3 separate regions of the Homo sapiens genome follow, and regions 2 and 3 are each linked to region 1. The links are contacts of gene promoters, found by promoter capture Hi-C in blood cells and fetal thymus (Javierre and others, 2016). All regions are on one chromosome and are shown on one strand. The core of a region is centred on a gene start or on the middle of the fragment in contact, and the rest is flanking DNA. Distances in the headings are between cores, read along the strand shown. Region 1 holds the start of SCAF8 (SR-related CTD associated factor 8). Region 2 overlaps FBXO5 (F-box protein 5). Region 3 has its middle 81 kb from the start of ARID1B.

Region 1 (3,727 bases), core at 563-3,062:
TCATAGTATCGAATAAAGTATTGGCACTTTAAGAGTTCATAAAATTTATGCTAATTTAGTTACCAGCATAATTACACTTTTTCTTTTTCTTTTTTTTTTTTTTGTAGACAGAGTCTCACTCTGTCACTGGGCTGGATTGCAGTGGCGCAGATCTCGGCTCACTGCAACCTCCGCTTCCCAGGTTCAAGCGATTCTCCTGCCTCAGCCTCCTAAGTAGCTGGGATTACAGGTGCCTGCCACTACGCCCAGCTAATTTTTTGTATTTTTAGTAGAGACAGGGTTTCACCACGTTGGCCAGGCTGGTCTTGAACTCCTGACCTCGTGATTGGCCCGCCTCGGCCTCCCAAAGTGCTGGGATTACAGGCCTGAGCCACTGTTCCCGGCCATAATTACACTTTCCAAGGCGTACGGGTAGGGATACTAATGCTGACTGTGCAGATGTGTACTTGCTATGTTTGATGTTTACATTAAGGCCTATTGAAGTCGGAGTTTAAAAAGAAATTGAATACATCAAAACCTGTCTTCTTCCAGACTAGTAAATTCAACTACACAGTGAAAATGGAATCTGCTTTTTAAAATCTTGTTTGACACGTGAATGAACCAGCGAGAAATGTTTCCCCCATAATCTTCCATCTCTCGATGCACAGATCTCTCCCTACCATTTGTCTTTATGTCGTGATGGATTAGAAGAGGAGCGAGTAAAAATAAAAGATATTGCAGAATAACCTTTGCCTGCCTACCAACCATCCAATTAGCTCAAGTCCCTAGCTGGCAAATTACCTAGTCAACAATGCCTCAATTATAAACACTACGTGTAACGTGACCACAGATCAACACCCCGTAGGTTCATTTCCCCCACCGCCCCCAATCGGTGTTAGCCTCAGTGAGGACCCGGGAAGGTCTGGAGAGTCATGTCCAGCGTCCACTTAAATCCTCAAAGGCCCAGGAAGGAGGTGGGCGGGCCAGGCCTCGGCGGAACTGACCTCGAGGGACCTGTCGGGAGTCTCCGGGTGAGGGCCCAACCGGGTCTTTCCCTCCGAGCTCGCAGCCATTCCATAGGACGCCGGAGACGCCAGAACCTCCCTCCGCCCCAGGGCGGCCCTCCCCCAACCCTCCTCCCGGACCCGGGGGAGGGGCACCCAGAGGAGAAACACCCCTCCCCCACGGGCACTGCTAGGCCACCGCTCACCCCACCCTTAAAAAACCCGCAGGCCCGCGCCCACCCTCCGGGCCCCGGCCTCGACCAGGGGTGGGGGCGGTGCGGGCAGGAGCAGGGGAACCCGGCTGCCATACCAACCTCGCTATTGAAGGTCTTCACGGCCTCCATGTTGTCGCTGCGGAGGCCCCGAGCCCGGCGGCGGAAGAGGCGGCGGCCACTGCACTGGGTGGGGAGAGCGAGACGCGGGCTGCTGCGTGGCCGCGAGGAGGGGGCGCTGGCGGGAGAGCGGGCCGCTGCGACCTCGGGGCGGAGTGGAAGGGCACGCGCTGGCGGGGAAGGGCTCCCTCAGCGGCAGAGCGGCACCGGCATGGCCGCTAGGGCGGGGGGAGCGCCGTTCTAGGGAACAGAGGCGCTGCCGGGGCGGGTCGGCGGCGGGCGGGGGAGGGGCTGGGCCGCGGCGCCTTCTCTTCTCTGCCCCGCTCCGTTTCGGTCCCCCTCCCTCTAGCCCCTTCCCCTACACTCTCCACTCCCTTCTGCCCCTTCCTCCGACGGGCTCCTGTTTCACCTCCCCGCCGCTCGGGCCGCAGGAACCAGCCCCGCTCGGCGAAGACAGAGGAGGAAGCGCTGGCAGCAGCGGCTGCGGCATCCAATATGGCGGACTCGAGTCGGGCCGCGCAGTTCGGGGATCCGCGGCGCCGGCTAGCGCGCCCCCTGGCGACTGGACCGTGCGAGCCCCGGCGGCCGCGCGGAAACCATCGAGCGCGCTGGGGCCAGAGCGTCGCCGCCCGTAGGCCCGGCTGGGCTCCGCTGCCCTCGCCTTGGCTCCGGGGCCGCCCGCGCCTCGCCCCCTCCCCGCGCCCCGCGGACGCGGGAGTGAGCGCTGCGGCATCCGGGGGAACGCCGCGGCGGGTTTGTACAGCAGGAGGAGGCAACTCCAAAGCGCGGCTCTAATAAGAGCCTAAACGTGCCCAAGAAGCGGCAAGTTGAGGAAATGTGCGCGTTTCCCTTGTTTCCCGGTGGATTGGTCCTTTTGCACAAGCGGCAGGGTTTAGTTGCTTTTCACAACTTTACTGGACAGTGCCCTAAACATCCGCAGCCTTCGCCAAGAAAAAGTTCCTGGTCATCTATTTAGTAACTGAACTCAATTGTTTTAACTGCACAGGGAGGGAACATTAGAAACCAAAGCCTTGGATTCGGGTTGGGGCAGGCGGCGAGGGAAACAGGCATGCAGCAGCTCCTTGCAGGAAATGCCCGCTGCATAGGATCCAGGGACTGGAGTGGCACAATGAGCGCATTTGTCTGCAAGGCGGGAAGGGGACCCTAGAATGCACAACACTTGAATAGGTGAAAAGGGAACCCGTCTGTTTCGGAAGATGAATTGTTCTAAAGGAATTTTGCCCTAGGATACTTGGAGTAAAGGTAAATACAGTATTTCTTAGATGGATTAGGAGATGCTGCTAGTAAAAAGCCTTCTCTCTCGTGCAGCGCAAAATAAGGTACCAATTTAAAAATACTTATCGATGTTAAAAGATAGGGATGTATCGTGGAACCCCGAACACTGCTGTCCTCTTGTTGAAAGTCATTTTTCAACAATCATTCCCAAATTCACTCAAAGGGAGAGAGGAACATAAGGGCAGGATCGTACTTTTGGAGAGTTTTGGAATCAAGGTAGTTCCTAAGAGCTGTGCGCAGAGCCCCGTGAAACTGGGAAAGTAAGGCCCTTCTTGAGGTTTCAGAGCCTTCATTCTACTTCATTGGCAGCTTTAGTATAGGGCCTGGCTACTGAGAAGGTAACAGGGATAACTCACCAAGTGCTTTTATATTTACTTTCAAAATCTCAAATTCTGTCACAGATTTCTCCACCGTCTCCCATCTTCAGGCCTAGCCATGATCTTTTACTGACACTTGCAGTAGCCTCCTAACTGGTCCCTTGCTTGTCTTCCTACAGTTCATTTCCAGACAGTAGCCGAGGGATGTTTTTCTTAGATAAATCAGATCAGGTCACTCCCTTACTTAAATCCCTTAAATACTTTCTCATTGCCCATTTGATACCATCATAACTTCTCACCATGGCCTGAAGGCCCAGCCCAGCCTGCCGCAGCTCACACCACCTTCCCTTGCTCCCTGACTCTCCTCCTGCCACACTGGCCTTTCTGTTACTTGACAAGAAGCAGTGTTTTCATAGGTAGGACAATTGTGTCTCTTCACACAGGGTGCTGTTGCTCTTGTCCTTTCCATAGCTGACTCCTCCTCCTTCAATCTTCCTGAAAGAGGTCCCCTAATCACTCCATCTAAAGGAGCATTTACTGTGGCTTGAGAAAGTACTGCACTCAGTTCTGTGCATGCCAGGTTCTCACAATCAGAAGTCACTGCTTTGAGGCCGGGTGTGGTGGCTCTCGCCTGTAATCCGAGCACTTTGGGAGACCGAGGCGGGTGGATCACCTGAGGTTAGGAGTTCGAGACCAGCCTGGCCAACATGGTGAAATCCCGTCTGTACTAAAAATACAAAAAAAGTAGCCAGGCGTGGTGGCACGCCCTTGTAGTCCCAGCTACTCGGGAGGCCGAGGC
Region 2 (3,764 bases), core at 742-3,241, 1.8 Mb after region 1:
TCCCAAAGTGTTGGGATTATAGGCATGAGCCACTGCACCTTACCTAAATACTAAATCTAATTATCCATGTGAAAATACTGTTGTTGCAAGAGGAACGTGGTAGTCATTTTAACTCCTTAAGTGCTAATTTCGTGAGGAAGAGTACAGATTCTAATGTTGGTATTAGCTAACAAAAAAAAATGGGAAACACATTTTTATATCATATGTCTTCATTGTGTCAGGCACTGCCATTTGCTTGGATTTTGTCATAAGCAGTAACAGTTATGTCTGGCCTTTAAGGAAATTAAAGTACTTTTTAAAATTTCAATTTGGTAGTGCTTTAGAGTAGAGTTTGATGAGGTCTGAGAAGTCCCCCGCCCCCCCCCCCCCCCCAAAAAATGAAGCTCTCCATGATTAATGGATTAGAAGCTAAATAAGCAAAGGAAGTGGAAAAGATTCTAAGCAGGGAAAGGCATGATGTACAAAGCCCCTGGGATGGAAAGGTCATTGTTACTAAGGACTGGAAAAGGGCCAGCTCACATGAGAAAAGAAACGTACACATTTTCTTCTTTAGTACCTTAAGTGCGCTTGCAACATAAATTCTGACTTTTCTATCATTTTTATAAACAGTATGAATGTTATTTGTAAGATCTGTTTTTCCAGAGCACCTCATTATAATGAGGAAGAGAAATCTGGCTCATTTAATTAACTGCCTGTATTGGGCAAACTAAGCTACACTTCAGTGTGCTCAATTGTAAAAATAACAATTCCCCATCCTACCTCAAAAGGTTTGTAAGCATTGGAAATTGCAAACTTCTAAACAAATATAAAGGATTTGCATCATTATTAGCTCTAATTTTAAGGAACTGTCCATATTCAAAGAACAGTGTTGAATGAAAGAGGTTCTATAGGACAACCCCCCAGTAACTGTTCTAAAGACAGCAGAAAGAGAATGACTTTGAATTCCTGAAGTATTTTCAGGCCTTTTTGGTTTAGGCAGCTAAACAAAGCAGAGTGTGCCCTTCATAAGTGGCTTCTGCTTTTTTATCCTGTCATGTAAATTGTGGTCATATATAAATCAAACCTAATTCTTTAGTTGATTTGAGGCAAAAATAGAGGCAATCTCTTGGCATTTTTTACTTTTCCTCTGAATAAAACTAAACCACTCAGAATCATTTGTTCTAGGTTTAGGGTTAATTAGGGAGCTAGAATTTGTATATTCTTTGCTTTTTATGCAGCTGAACCCTTAATTTTAGGTTTAGTAGGATCCTGGAGCACATACTATGTGTCTTTCACTGTATTAACATTGGGAATTTACAAGCAGTTTCTCTCTACAAGTTACTTTCTATGAAGGTATCCATTTCTACTTTGAGTTAAAAAGTTTTGCTCTATGTAAAAAATGGTTAAGTTTTATATGAACGCATTACCAATATTTAGTGCAGACTAAACATACTGATGCTGTATACATTTACTTACAGGATAAATTGTTAGCTATATATGATTGGCTTGTGTGGGGATGGTAGATGGGGCACATTTTAACCTGGCATTTAAGATTCAGGCTTTCTTAGCTCATGTCCCCATTGTTTGCCTACTCTTACTCTCTGCCTTCAACAATGCTAAACAGTTTTCTGAACCCATCTACCATATTCCTTCCCAGCATTGTGCCGTTGCTCAAATTGTGAATGCCCTTCCCAGGCCACTGTTGTCTGACAAAATCCTAATCATTTTTTAGAGTTGTGGTTCTCAACTGAAGAATAGAGGAAATTTTGCATCTGGCCTTTTTCCCTGCCCAGTATTTGGCAATAACTGGTAACTGGAGACATTGCATCTTGGGAGTGGGGGCTGCCACTGGTGTCTAATGGGTAAAGGCTGCTTAACATCCTACAATGCACAGGACAGTCCCTGAGAACAAAGAGGTATTCACTGCAAAATGTCTGTAGCACAGGGATGGTGAAATCTTGCTTTAAAGCTATCTTAAGATGCTGCCTGCTCCATTGTGTCTTAACTGATTTCTTAGATCCCGGGGGTTGGAGCAGGGTGGTAATAAAACCCTGAACAAGTCTTTCCCTTTTTTCTATTTATCATTAATAGCAAGTTTATCTTAAGTTATTTAAAGCAATTGAACAGTAATTTACACCTGCTGCCCTATCACTCATATTCTTAAATCTGGTTAATTGATTAGAGTGTCATTCTTATTTACCAACACTTACTTTTGATTGATAGCAGAACTATTCATACTTACGGTTCTTTGGTAAATTAGTCGTGGAATGTCTTTGTTCAGTGATTAAAGAGCAGTTTCCAGCACATATTAGACAAGGTACAGGGAGATGTCCCGGTACTCGAGTTTACTATCCAGTAAGGTAGACAAACGCTTTGAATATATTAGAAGGTCACCAGGAGCACCCATCAGAATAAAACTTGGAGATAAGAGCTGTGGGAATTCAGGTAGACTTTAATTTATAGATGTTTAAATGTGTTATTAGTTCTTTTCTCCAAGCTACCTATAGATTTCTTGAATAGTTATTTTAAGGCTTGCAATCATTGTTAATAGTGAAATAATACACAAAATTTTTATTATTTTTATCAAGATTATTCCCACCCTTATACCTTGTCCTCCTGTACTAATCTTAACCACTTTTGCTGTCAGTGGCTTGGGTTGTGCTTACGTCAAAGAGAACCATAATGTCATTTCAAGTCCAAGGAATAAACACTGAATCTAAAAGTATTTGTGGTTACTTTAAGGATAACTTTGACCATAGCGCCTACTCTTTTGATACATCACATTTCTTCATTTGTTCCATAAACACAGATGTTTATTATATAGCCCCTTTTTCCACTATTTTTTACTCAATCAGTTATAGACAACAGTCAGGTGTTACAGCCAGGCAGATCCAAAAGCAGTCTGTTCTGAAGTGCCTTCTCAAGAATAATATAATATGTATGTACTTATAAGATTTAAGTAATATTTTCACATATTATTGTCATATCAATAATTAAACTTGAATAACATCACAGCTATGTAAGCAAGTACATGTAGACAATACCTAATGCTGAGAGATTGCAAAGTAATCTTTGTATATCCCAATTTAAGAAGTAGGGATGTGTGGAAATTTTGCCATTAAGATGTAAATGTTATGTTCTTTTTATAGGTTGTAAAGAAGAAAGTTCTACCCTTTCTGTCAAAATGAAGTGTGATTTTAATTGTAACCATGTTCATTCCGGACTTAAACTGGTAAAACCTGATGACATTGGAAGACTAGTTTCCTACACCCCTGCATATTTGGAAGGTTCCTGTAAAGACTGCATTAAAGACTATGAAAGGCTGTCATGTATTGGGTCACCGATTGTGAGCCCTAGGATTGTACAACTTGAAACTGAAAGCAAGCGCTTGCATAACAAGGAAAATCAACATGTGCAACAGACACTTAATAGTACAAATGAAATAGAAGCACTAGAGACCAGTAGACTTTATGAAGACAGTGGCTATTCCTCATTTTCTCTACAAAGTGGCCTCAGTGAACATGAAGAAGGTAGCCTCCTGGAGGAGAATTTCGGTGACAGTCTACAATCCTGCCTGCTACAAATACAAAGCCCAGACCAATATCCCAACAAAAACTTGCTGCCAGTTCTTCATTTTGAAAAAGTGGTTTGTTCAACATTAAAAAAGAATGCAAAACGAAATCCTAAAGTAGATCGGGAGATGCTGAAGGAAATTATAGCCAGAGGAAATTTTAGACTGCAGAATATAATTGGCAGAAAAATGGGCCTAGAATGTGTAGATATTC
Region 3 (3,666 bases), core at 926-3,425, 2.0 Mb before region 1:
TTATTGGGCATCTACTAATTGTTTCACTAACCAGGTTTTCCAATACCATTTATAGAACAATCTTCTTGTCCTCCATTGATCTGAAATGCTCCTTTTATCACACACCTGAGTTTATATTTGAACTGCTGTTTTACTGCTCACCGTTCTGTTTTAATTGTTGTAGATTGGTGACTTTTTTAATCTGGTAGGGTAACTTTTTATAGCTGTTGTTTTTTAAAAATAGGATCCAGGGCAGAGAGGGAGCTATTAAGGAAGATAACCAAGCTTGGACTCAAGGGAGTAACTAACCAGCCCAAAGGCACGTTGCAGTGTAGCAGATTCTTAGAAGACATTCTGGAATCAGAGGAAGCTTACTTCAAATCCTGGTGTATGATTTATCATCCACATGACCCAACGTATATCACTTAATTTCTTTAATCTCTTTCCTCATCTGCAAATTGAAGACAATATCAGCTACCTTGAAGTGTCCTGATGTGGATTAAAGTACAAAATGGATGTCAGTTTCTCTAGGACCATGCCTGGCACCCAGCTGTCACATCCTTCCCTTCCTTTGAAAGCGTTCCTACTGGTAGGGACATGGCTTCCCTTTCTTAGGTTTTCTTACATCTGCAAAAAAGGAAGAAGAACAAAGAATGCTCACAGCATTCTGCAGGCTTGTTTCACTGAACGGAGATAGATACATGGTAACTGTCTAGGGGATTTCAGCTGTGCATGTGTATTCTCTCCTCCCTGAACATGGCAGAGCAGAAGATACTGCATGCCATAGAATTCATGAAGGGCTCTGTCATTATCCAGCCATGAACATGGGATGTCAAACCAGGTAGGAGTGCTTGGCGGTACATTCCCCTTGAGGGGAAGTGAAAGGGGAAATTGCCCTGGGCCGTGAGAACTGGCTAGGGAACAGGTGCAGAGTGATGGGGCCTCTCTTCTCTGCCAAGTTTGGACTTTAAGTGATTTTGGGGGCAGAACTCACATTGATGACCTCCCTTTTTGTAGTTTCTTAGAGATTATTGAGTAATATTTAAAAATATTTGATGATTAGAGTGAAGACACGTCACATTGGGCCCCAGAGCAATCTTCCACCTCCAGGAGTGGCCAGGATGACTTTGGAGGGACACCTCTGTCATCTTTTCTCCCTAAGTGATGGATGGATAGAGTCTGATCATAATTAATTTTAATAGAGACCTGATGTGCTGTGAGAGAATCTTGGCCATTCAAATGAAATAGAACTGATAGCCAGCCACGAAAAAAATAATCTCAGTTCTATCTCACCATTGGCTTTAGAACATATTAAGTCTAGTTAAGAAGTATTTATGGAGGGCTTCTGTGCCTGGTGCTATAGAAAGGGATACAAAAAAAGGACCTTGTCTGACATTCTCTGTCTGAATTGGACAGACAAGAAATATAATAAAATAATAATGTACTATCTGTGAGGCCCTGACATATGGTATACACTGAGTTATATGCTCAGTGTGCATTAGCTCTAATTCATTAATTCTTTCCACAAATGTTTCTGGAGTGCCTAGTATGTGCCAGGGATTCTAGTTGCTGGGAGAACCATAGGGCAGAAGGCAGAGCAAGTCCCTGCCTTTGGGAAACATTCTAGTACTTATAAGCAAATGAGTATGCACGATCATTTCAGGGAATGATCAATGCTATAAAGAGCCAGGGGCAGTGGCTCATGCCTGTAATCCCCGCACTTTGGGAGACCGAGGTGGGCGGATCACGAGGTCGGGAAATTGAGACCATCCTGGCCAACGTGGTGAAACCTGGTCTCCACTAAAAAAAAAAATAAAAATAAAAAATAAAAAAAAAATTAGCCAAGCGTGGTGGCGTGTGCCTGTAATCCCAGCTACTCGGGAGGTTGAGGCACGAGAATAGCTTGAACCTGGGAGGTGGTTCAAGTGAGCCGAGATCGCACCACTGCACTCCAGCCTGGTGACAGAGCGAGACTCCGTCTCAAAAGAAAAAAAAAAAAAAAAAAGAAAAAGAAAAAGACAAAAGAAAAGAAAAAGAAAAAGAAGTAGGGTACAGGGATAGAGGGGCATTGGGGCCCAGCTAGGGGATATTTTAGACAGGCCTCTCTGACGGGGTGGGCTGGAAGAATGAAGTGAACCCCAGAGGCCGAGGGTCCAGGCAGAGAGAACAGCAAGTATAGAGGCGCTGTGGGGATTCCTGAGACCAGGGCGGCTGGAATGGGGTGAGGCAGGAGGAGGGGCAGGAGAAGAAACAGGACAGACAGTAAGTGACTCTGCTGTGTCAGGTCTTGCAGGAAATGACAATCATTGCAGGTTTCATTCTGAGGCCAACGGGCAGCTCTTGGAACATTTTGAAGCAGGAGAGGGTTACCTGGAAACAGACTCTGAGCTGGCAATGCACAGGCAGAAGCCCTGTTCTCCCACCAGCAGAAGAACAAGAGAGAAGCAGGGCTGGGAAGAGGGAGAACGTGGGGTATCTCAACACAGACCCCCAACTGATCCCGCCAAAGCTGTGGGGTTGGGAGGACCCTTCAGAGTTTCCTCCAGTTGAGGCAAGAGGGCTGGACCTTATAAACCAGCATCAACCAGTTGCTGTCTCCCAAGAGGGGTTATAGACTTGGGCTAGGCAGCTCCCTGTGGGAGCGGATGCCTGGAGAGCGACACAGCTGTAGGCCGCCAGCAGTCAACACCCCCAGCAGCTAGGGCAGTGGCACCTGAGTCCTGAAGGGTGGCTCTCCACAGAATCCGCTACAGATCTGTTTATGTTTTCATTCTTATAAAAATCCTCTAAGTTAGGTGTTTTTATTCCCATTAGACAGGAGGAAACTGAGGCTCATGGAGTTTAGGCAACCTGTTCAAGGTCATACCTAGGAGATGTTGGATTTGAGACTAGATCTCTCCAAATGCAAAGACCATATCCTTTAAAAAATTGTGATAAAATATACATAAGTGAAATTTACCCTCTTAACCATATTTCAGTATAAAGTTGGTAGCATTAAGTACATTCACATTGTTGTGCAACCACCCCACTATCCTCCAGAACATTTTGTTTTTAAATATATGGAGTCTTGCCATGTTGTCCAGGCTAGCCTCGAACTCCTGAGATCAAGTCATCCTCCTGCCTCAGCCTCCTGAGTAGTGAGGATTACTGGAGTGCACCACCACACGCAACTAATTTTTATTTTTTGTGTAGACAGGGTCTGACTATGTTGCCCAGACTGGTCTCAGACTCTTGGGCTCAAGCAATCCTCCTGCCTCAGCCTCTTGAGTGGGTGGGACTACAGATGCATGCTACCTCACTTGGTTTCATCTCCAAAACTTTTTCATCTTGCATAACTGAAACTCTGAATCTGTAAAATAATAACTTCTCATTCTCCTCCCATCTCCCTAGTCCCTGGTAACCAGCACTCTACTTTCTGTCTTTATGAGTTTGACTATTCTAGATATAAGTGACATCCCACAGTATTTGTCCTTCTGTGGCTGGCTTATTTCACTTAGCATATTGCCTTCAAGGCTCATCCATATTGTAGCATGTATGCGAATTTCATTCCTCTTTAAGGCTGAATCATATTCCATTGTATGGATATTCCACCATTTATCTGTTTATTCATCTGCCATGGGCATATGGGTTGTTTCCCCCTTTTGGCTATTGTGAATAATGTTGCTATCAACATGGGTGTACAAATAT

Evidence for each region. Contacts are between HindIII fragments. The CHiCAGO score rates a contact against its expected background, and 5 or more counts as called.
Region 2: a fragment that was not itself captured here is called in contact with the fragment with the promoter of SCAF8 in region 1 in 1 of 17 cell types (neutrophils); the score reaches 5.3 in neutrophils.
Region 3: a contact is called between a fragment that was not itself captured here and the fragment with the promoter of SCAF8 in region 1, in 1 of 17 cell types (fetal thymus). The highest score is 5.2, in fetal thymus.

Annotation. Positions count from the first base shown.
Region 1 is chr6:154,731,501-154,735,227 of GRCh38, reverse strand. It overlaps SCAF8 (SR-related CTD associated factor 8), which reads right to left and starts at 1,812. Exons shown (of 20, transcript NM_014892.5): 1 at 1,298-1,812. The coding sequence starts at 1,327. RefSeq lists silencers at 1,040-1,639, 1,790-1,909, 1,940-2,179 and an enhancer at 1,276-1,779. The HindIII fragment of the contact is 14,602 bases long and covers 1-3,727 here.
Region 2 is chr6:152,974,986-152,978,749 of GRCh38, reverse strand. It overlaps FBXO5 (F-box protein 5), which reads left to right. Exons shown (of 5, transcript NM_012177.5): 2 at 3,129-3,764. Among named protein-coding and RNA genes, the nearest start is that of FBXO5, 6.2 kb to the left of the region's middle. The HindIII fragment of the contact is 9,862 bases long and covers 1-3,764 here.
Region 3 is chr6:156,694,549-156,698,214 of GRCh38, reverse strand. No RefSeq gene overlaps it. Among named protein-coding and RNA genes, the nearest start is that of ARID1B, 81 kb to the left of the region's middle. RefSeq lists an enhancer at 1,104-1,153. The HindIII fragment of the contact is 3,647 bases long and covers 352-3,666 here.